Regions from separate parts of the Homo sapiens genome. Here region 2 is linked to region 1. Evidence: promoter capture Hi-C in human tissues and cell types (Jung and others, 2019). All regions are on one chromosome and are shown on one strand. The core of a region is centred on a gene start or on the middle of the fragment in contact, and the rest is flanking DNA. Distances in the headings are between cores, read along the strand shown. Region 1 holds the start of OR52R1 (olfactory receptor family 52 subfamily R member 1). Region 2 holds the start of OR51T1 (olfactory receptor family 51 subfamily T member 1).

What was found. Contacts are between HindIII fragments. The study calls those that stand out against the background at their distance.
Region 2: a contact is called between the fragment with the promoter of OR51T1 here and the fragment with the promoter of OR52R1 in region 1, in 2 of the 25 tissues and cell types used here (ovary and stomach).

What each region holds. Positions count from the first base shown.
Region 1 is chr11:4,802,943-4,805,894 of GRCh38, reverse strand. OR52R1 (olfactory receptor family 52 subfamily R member 1) reads left to right here and starts at 1,515. Exons shown (of 1, transcript NM_001005177.3): 1 at 1,515-2,462. The coding sequence starts at 1,515. The coding sequence ends at 2,462. The region is part of intron 2 of MMP26 (matrix metallopeptidase 26); the gene reads right to left. The HindIII fragment of the contact is 16,304 bases long and covers 1-2,952 here.
Region 2 is chr11:4,880,359-4,883,310 of GRCh38, reverse strand. It overlaps OR51T1 (olfactory receptor family 51 subfamily T member 1), which reads right to left and starts at 1,411. Exons shown (of 1, transcript NM_001004759.3): 1 at 428-1,411. The coding sequence starts at 1,411. The coding sequence ends at 428. The region is part of intron 2 of MMP26 (matrix metallopeptidase 26); the gene reads right to left. The HindIII fragment of the contact is 5,093 bases long and covers 1-2,952 here.

The sequences.
Region 1 (2,952 bases), core at 266-2,765:
TAAGAACAAAATGAGCTTTGTGCCATCGATTCTGAGATTGATAGTGATCACCAAAAAACTCAAAGAGTGGAATAAACTCAGGTAAGATGAATAGAGACAGACAGTGGGGCTCACACAGTATCTACTGTAGCAGGGCAACCTCTATGGCCTCAAGGTAGTCAATAGGGCTCTGTCTGGGTATTTAGAATATTGTTAATCAGTTAATGAGTCTGCTGCCTTTGAATAATGACATTTATTTGCTACTTTCCTCAGGAATATTTTATTAAATTCCTACTCTGCACCAAGCACAGAGATGCTAGAGATAGTGTGGGGTTCACAGCTGACTTCATGAAAAATTCCTCTTCTAGGACAGAGGTTGGCAAACTATAGCCTGGAAACCAACACCTGCTTGCAACCCATTTTTGTAAACAAAGGTTTATTGGAACACACCACACTCACACATTTATGTGTTGACTATGGTTACTTTCACACTACAATGGCTGAATTGATCTGCTGCAACAGACAGTATAGGCCACAATTTCTCAAAATTTTGTGATCTCACTTTTTAAAGAAAAAAAGTTTGCTAACTTCTTGTCTAGGAGAAACCTACACTAAAGATAATAAATTAAATTATAAATGTACAATTGGTCAGTAGATTAACTTCCCACCCAAGCCCTTGTGGTAACTGACCTAGATTCAAAGCTAACTTCAAAGCAATACATAAATTGCTATAGGCTTGCAAACTCTACTGACTTCCTACTCTGAGAAATTGGCCAAGTGGCTAACCAGAGGTTTAAAAAGGACCTGTGGAAAAGTTTAAGCTAATCAGCTGTTAGTTCTATAGAACTGAAGAGCAAGAATTACTATAATATTACTTGTCATGATGATTTTCCCTTAGCAGATGCTACTTTCAAGAAAAATATTGATTCATTTTTTTTTTTTTTTTTTGAGGCGGTTTCGCTCTGACACCCAGGCTGGAGTGCAGTGGTGTGAGCTCAGCTCACTGCAACGTCCAACTCCTGGGTTCAAGTGATTTTCCTTCCTCAGCCTCCTGAGTAGCTGGGACTATAGGCGTGCTCTACCATGCCTGGCTAATGGGGTTTTTTTTTGTTTTGTTTTGTTTTTGTATTTTTAATAGAAAAGGGGTTCCACTATGTCAGCCAGGCTGGTCTTGAACTCCTGACCTCAAGCAATCTGCCTGCCTCAGCCTCCCAAAGTGCTAGGATTATAGGTGTAAGCCACCACACCTGGTCAAGAAAAATATTGATTCTTAAAAAACAGTTACACATGCAACTAGTATGTTCTACCCCATTTTGAATGACATAAGTACGAAAAACAACAGTAACATCATGTCATGTTGTAACATATTATTTATTAAAACAGTTGAAATTATTCTAGTTTATAATCAAACCCAATCACCCTGGTATCCAATAGTCCCATCCAAAAGCCTTGTATATAATAATAACACTTGTTTTGATTGTTATCATCTGCAGAGAGTAGATTGCGTTCCCAGCAGAGACCATATTAACCAGTCCATGGTGCTGGCTTCAGGGAACAGCTCTTCTCATCCTGTGTCCTTCATCCTGCTTGGAATCCCAGGCCTGGAGAGTTTCCAGTTGTGGATTGCCTTTCCGTTCTGTGCCACGTATGCTGTGGCTGTTGTTGGAAATATCACTCTCCTCCATGTAATCAGAATTGACCACACCCTGCATGAGCCCATGTACCTCTTTCTGGCCATGCTGGCCATCACTGACCTGGTCCTCTCCTCCTCCACTCAACCTAAGATGTTGGCCATATTCTGGTTTCATGCTCATGAGATTCAGTACCATGCCTGCCTCATCCAGGTGTTCTTCATCCATGCCTTTTCTTCTGTGGAGTCTGGGGTGCTCATGGCTATGGCCCTGGACTGCTACGTGGCTATCTGCTTCCCACTCCGACACTCTAGCATCCTGACCCCATCGGTCGTGATCAAACTGGGGACCATCGTGATGCTGAGAGGGCTGCTGTGGGTGAGCCCCTTCTGCTTCATGGTGTCTAGGATGCCCTTCTGCCAACACCAAGCCATTCCCCAGTCATACTGTGAGCACATGGCTGTGCTGAAGTTGGTGTGTGCTGATACAAGCATAAGTCGTGGGAATGGGCTCTTTGTGGCCTTCTCTGTGGCTGGCTTTGATATGATTGTCATTGGTATGTCATACGTGATGATTTTGAGAGCTGTGCTTCAGTTGCCCTCAGGTGAAGCCCGCCTCAAAGCTTTTAGCACACGTTCCTCCCATATCTGTGTCATCTTGGCTCTTTATATCCCAGCCCTTTTTTCTTTCCTCACCTACCGCTTTGGCCATGATGTGCCCCGAGTTGTACACATCCTGTTTGCTAATCTCTATCTACTGATACCTCCCATGCTCAACCCCATCATTTATGGAGTTAGAACCAAACAGATCGGGGACAGGGTTATCCAAGGATGTTGTGGAAACATCCCCTGAGCAAAGGGTCAGTGTATCCCCATCACTTACATTGCCCCACTAATGTGGGGACATTAATGAACATTTGACAGGCTATTACTTATTATCACTAAGTCAGCTCTGTAAATAACTGGCTCAGAGGTAAGCAACCCTCTAGAGGCAAGAGAAACAATTTTCAGGGTACCTAGAAAAGAGATACCTGAGAGATGTGATGGATAAGAACAACTTTGTTGACTACATATTCATCATCACATGGAAACAATAAAAGTAGTTTTACCTATTAAATCAGTGAATATTTTAAAAGAATGTCATCTCCCACAGATGATTAAGGTAAAAAAGTTGTTTTTACACTGTCAGTAGAAGTAGGTACACTTTGCTTAAAAGAAATTTAGAAATTTACATCAAATAATTTAAAAGTACATATATTTCTTCATCTGAGAATATGTTTATAAAAATAAAGTGCATATGTACAAAGACATGCATAAAATCATGCCTTATAAAAACAAAATAT
Region 2 (2,952 bases), core at 162-2,661, 78 kb before region 1:
CTTTTCCTTTTACCAGCTCAAGTAACAACCTTCATTGCCTCACTGGAAATATCACCTCAGGGAAAAAAAAAAATTGTTCAGCTGGATGTGAAAATAAAATTTTAATTTACTTCTGGTCTAAAAATTACTGTCTTAAAGGAGATAAAGTTTTCCACTATATTAAAGTGACTAGTCTGCTTTTATATGCACAGGAGTCATGTCATTGTTTAAAATGGTTCAGGGACATATGCTCAATTAATTTGGTTTAAATTATGGTATTAAAAATTAAAAATAAAACTCTTTGATAAGCTCAGGGGAAAATTACTGTCTTCTTCCCACTCCTAAAATTCAATTGGAATTGACTCAGCAACCAAAACACCTGTGGATAAGACTGCCCCAAGTCCCTTTCTTTCCAAAGCATAATTCGTGTCCTGACAATTTCCTACCTTCAATCCCATCTTCCCCTAAGACCCCTCACATTAAAACCCCATGAACCCTTGGATTGGAGCAGCTGGAACATAGCCTGGCGGATTGTCTTGGTCTTCAAGCTGTAAATGATAGGGTTCAGCACAGGTGGTAAGAGCAGATAAATATTGGCCAAAGTGCTACAGAGCACCCTTGGGGTGGAGTGGAAGAGGCGGTGTGCCAAAGAGAGGCTGATCAGTGGCACATAGAAAATAGTGACTGCACAGATGTGACAGACACAAGTGCTGAGAGCTTTTTGTTGCTTCTTTCGGGCCACAATGCCCAGAACAGTACGGAGGATCAGGACATAGGAGAAAAGAATAAACAATACGTCAGTGCCATTCAGGTAGAGCTGAAGAAACAGTCCCCAAAAACTGCTGATCCAAGGTTTGGAATATGTGTATTTGATCACTTCTGGGTGGTAGCAAAATGGATGGGAAAGCTCGTGACCCCCATGAAAAGACACAGTGTTTATGGCTACAAGAAGGGGAAGTAAGAAAACTGCTGGTCTAATGCAGATGACCAGCCCTATCACCAGGACCATCCTGTCTGTGAGGATAGTAGCATAGTTCAGTGGGTTACAGATAGCCACGAAGCGGTCAAAGGCCATGGCTACCAGCACCGAGGACTCCAGCAAGGAGAAAGCATGCACAAAGAACATTTGAATGAAGCAAGCTTTAAAGCTGATCTCCCGGGCATGAAACCAGAGAACACCAAGCACAGTGGGAAGGGTCGTAATGGTCAGACATAGATCAACAGCTGCCAGCATGGAGAGGAAATAATACATGGGTTTGTGGAGTCTCCGCTTAGTAATGATGACAAGAAAGATCATACTGTTTCCCAAGAGGGCAATGGTGTAGAGACAGCAGACTGGAATGGAGATCCAGACATGAGCACATTCCAGCCCAGGGAATGCAGTGAGGAGGAAGTTTGAGGAAGACGAAGTGGTGTTATTGAATATTGCCATGGTTGGTTGAAGACACTGAACTATGAGGAAAGAAAAATAATTAAGATTCTTTATATATATAGCATACATTTTATTAGTCATTTTATATACAATTTTAAATTTAAGGTAGTTATTTTTCTTCTGTTTTAAAGAAAGGAAATGGACCCAGGAAGGTTAAATAGTATATCTAGGCTAAAATAGTTCAATACAGATTCAAATTCAAAACCAAATTTACTAACTCCAAAGTCTATTATTTTTTACTAAACTTCAGATGATCAGAGAGGCCAGGCTAATGAGACAATTTGGATAGCTGAATGTTGTAATTTCCTTCCTTTAAAATACAATTTTTTAATATCCTTTTATACTTGTATATGATGTACAGGAGGGGTAGAGATGAGAAATAAGCAAAATAGAGAACTATGTTCTCATGACTCATCTAAAGAAGAATGTTTGTGGAGTCCAAGTGTTTTTAAAATTATGTATAAAAGTCTACATATGTTTGTATTGTTTTTGTCTTCACGTGCAGATGAATGCAGAGGGCATTTGGGGGTGCAAAAGTAACTGAGCGATGAGATGCTTATAAAGCAGATATCAGTTATCCTCTGTTCTTGGAATGATATCTCATAAAGGCAAAGAAATGACACTGGATAATGCAAGGCGGTAAGAGGAGAGGAGACAGTGGTTCCGTTTGCTGCTGGGGAAATCTTTCCTGTGGAATGGAGACAGAAGAAGAAGCAGAGGGCTTTCTCTCTGTGAGGTCATACACTCTGGAGCCAGTGGTAGGTCAAAGTTCAGTGCCTAAATTTATCAAGGTTTTCTCAACATTGCTGGCTAACCAGAGCAATATATTAGTGCTTTCTCTCTTCAGGTACAAGTCTCCATCTGACTGGCCAGGAAGAAGGTAGCATCTGCCCATTCATATACAGAAGACCAGGTGAAATTATTTGAATAACACTCACTCAACTCAATAACAGAGTGACCCAAAGGTCAACATCCCTATTTTCTGGCATCAGTAATGTTACAGACCCATCCTCTTCATTTACCAACCCCTACCTTCTGTTAATTTGTTAACACTGAATTATATTTCCTCCACAATTCAGAATATACCCTGAAAGTTCCCTGACATATTAAGCTAAAACTACCCTCTGCTTCAATCTTTGCCCCACATTTTGCTTGGACCTTTCCCTTGGTGCTTAATAATGAGGCACAACTGATATTGGTAATTTATATATCCAAGTACTGTGTTCTTCTGCCAGAAGTTTGAGATTCTTGAAAGTTTGGGAATGCACGTTTTTAATCTCTCAATGCTAGTTACTAAAGCAGGATCAGGAAAAACAGAAATCTTCATTTAGCAACATTGATTGATTACCAAACAATTATGGCCACAGAAAGGGAGTTTTGAGTCCTATCGTCTTTTGCCTTTTTCTCTTCTTTCTCCTCCTGTCTTCTCTCTCCCATCTCAATTTCTTCCAGTATCTGTTACACCCCTCCCTTTCTTCATCCCATCTTACTTGTAGTTCCCATCAATTTATTGCTTTATCTTCTTCCTCTCCTTATCTTAC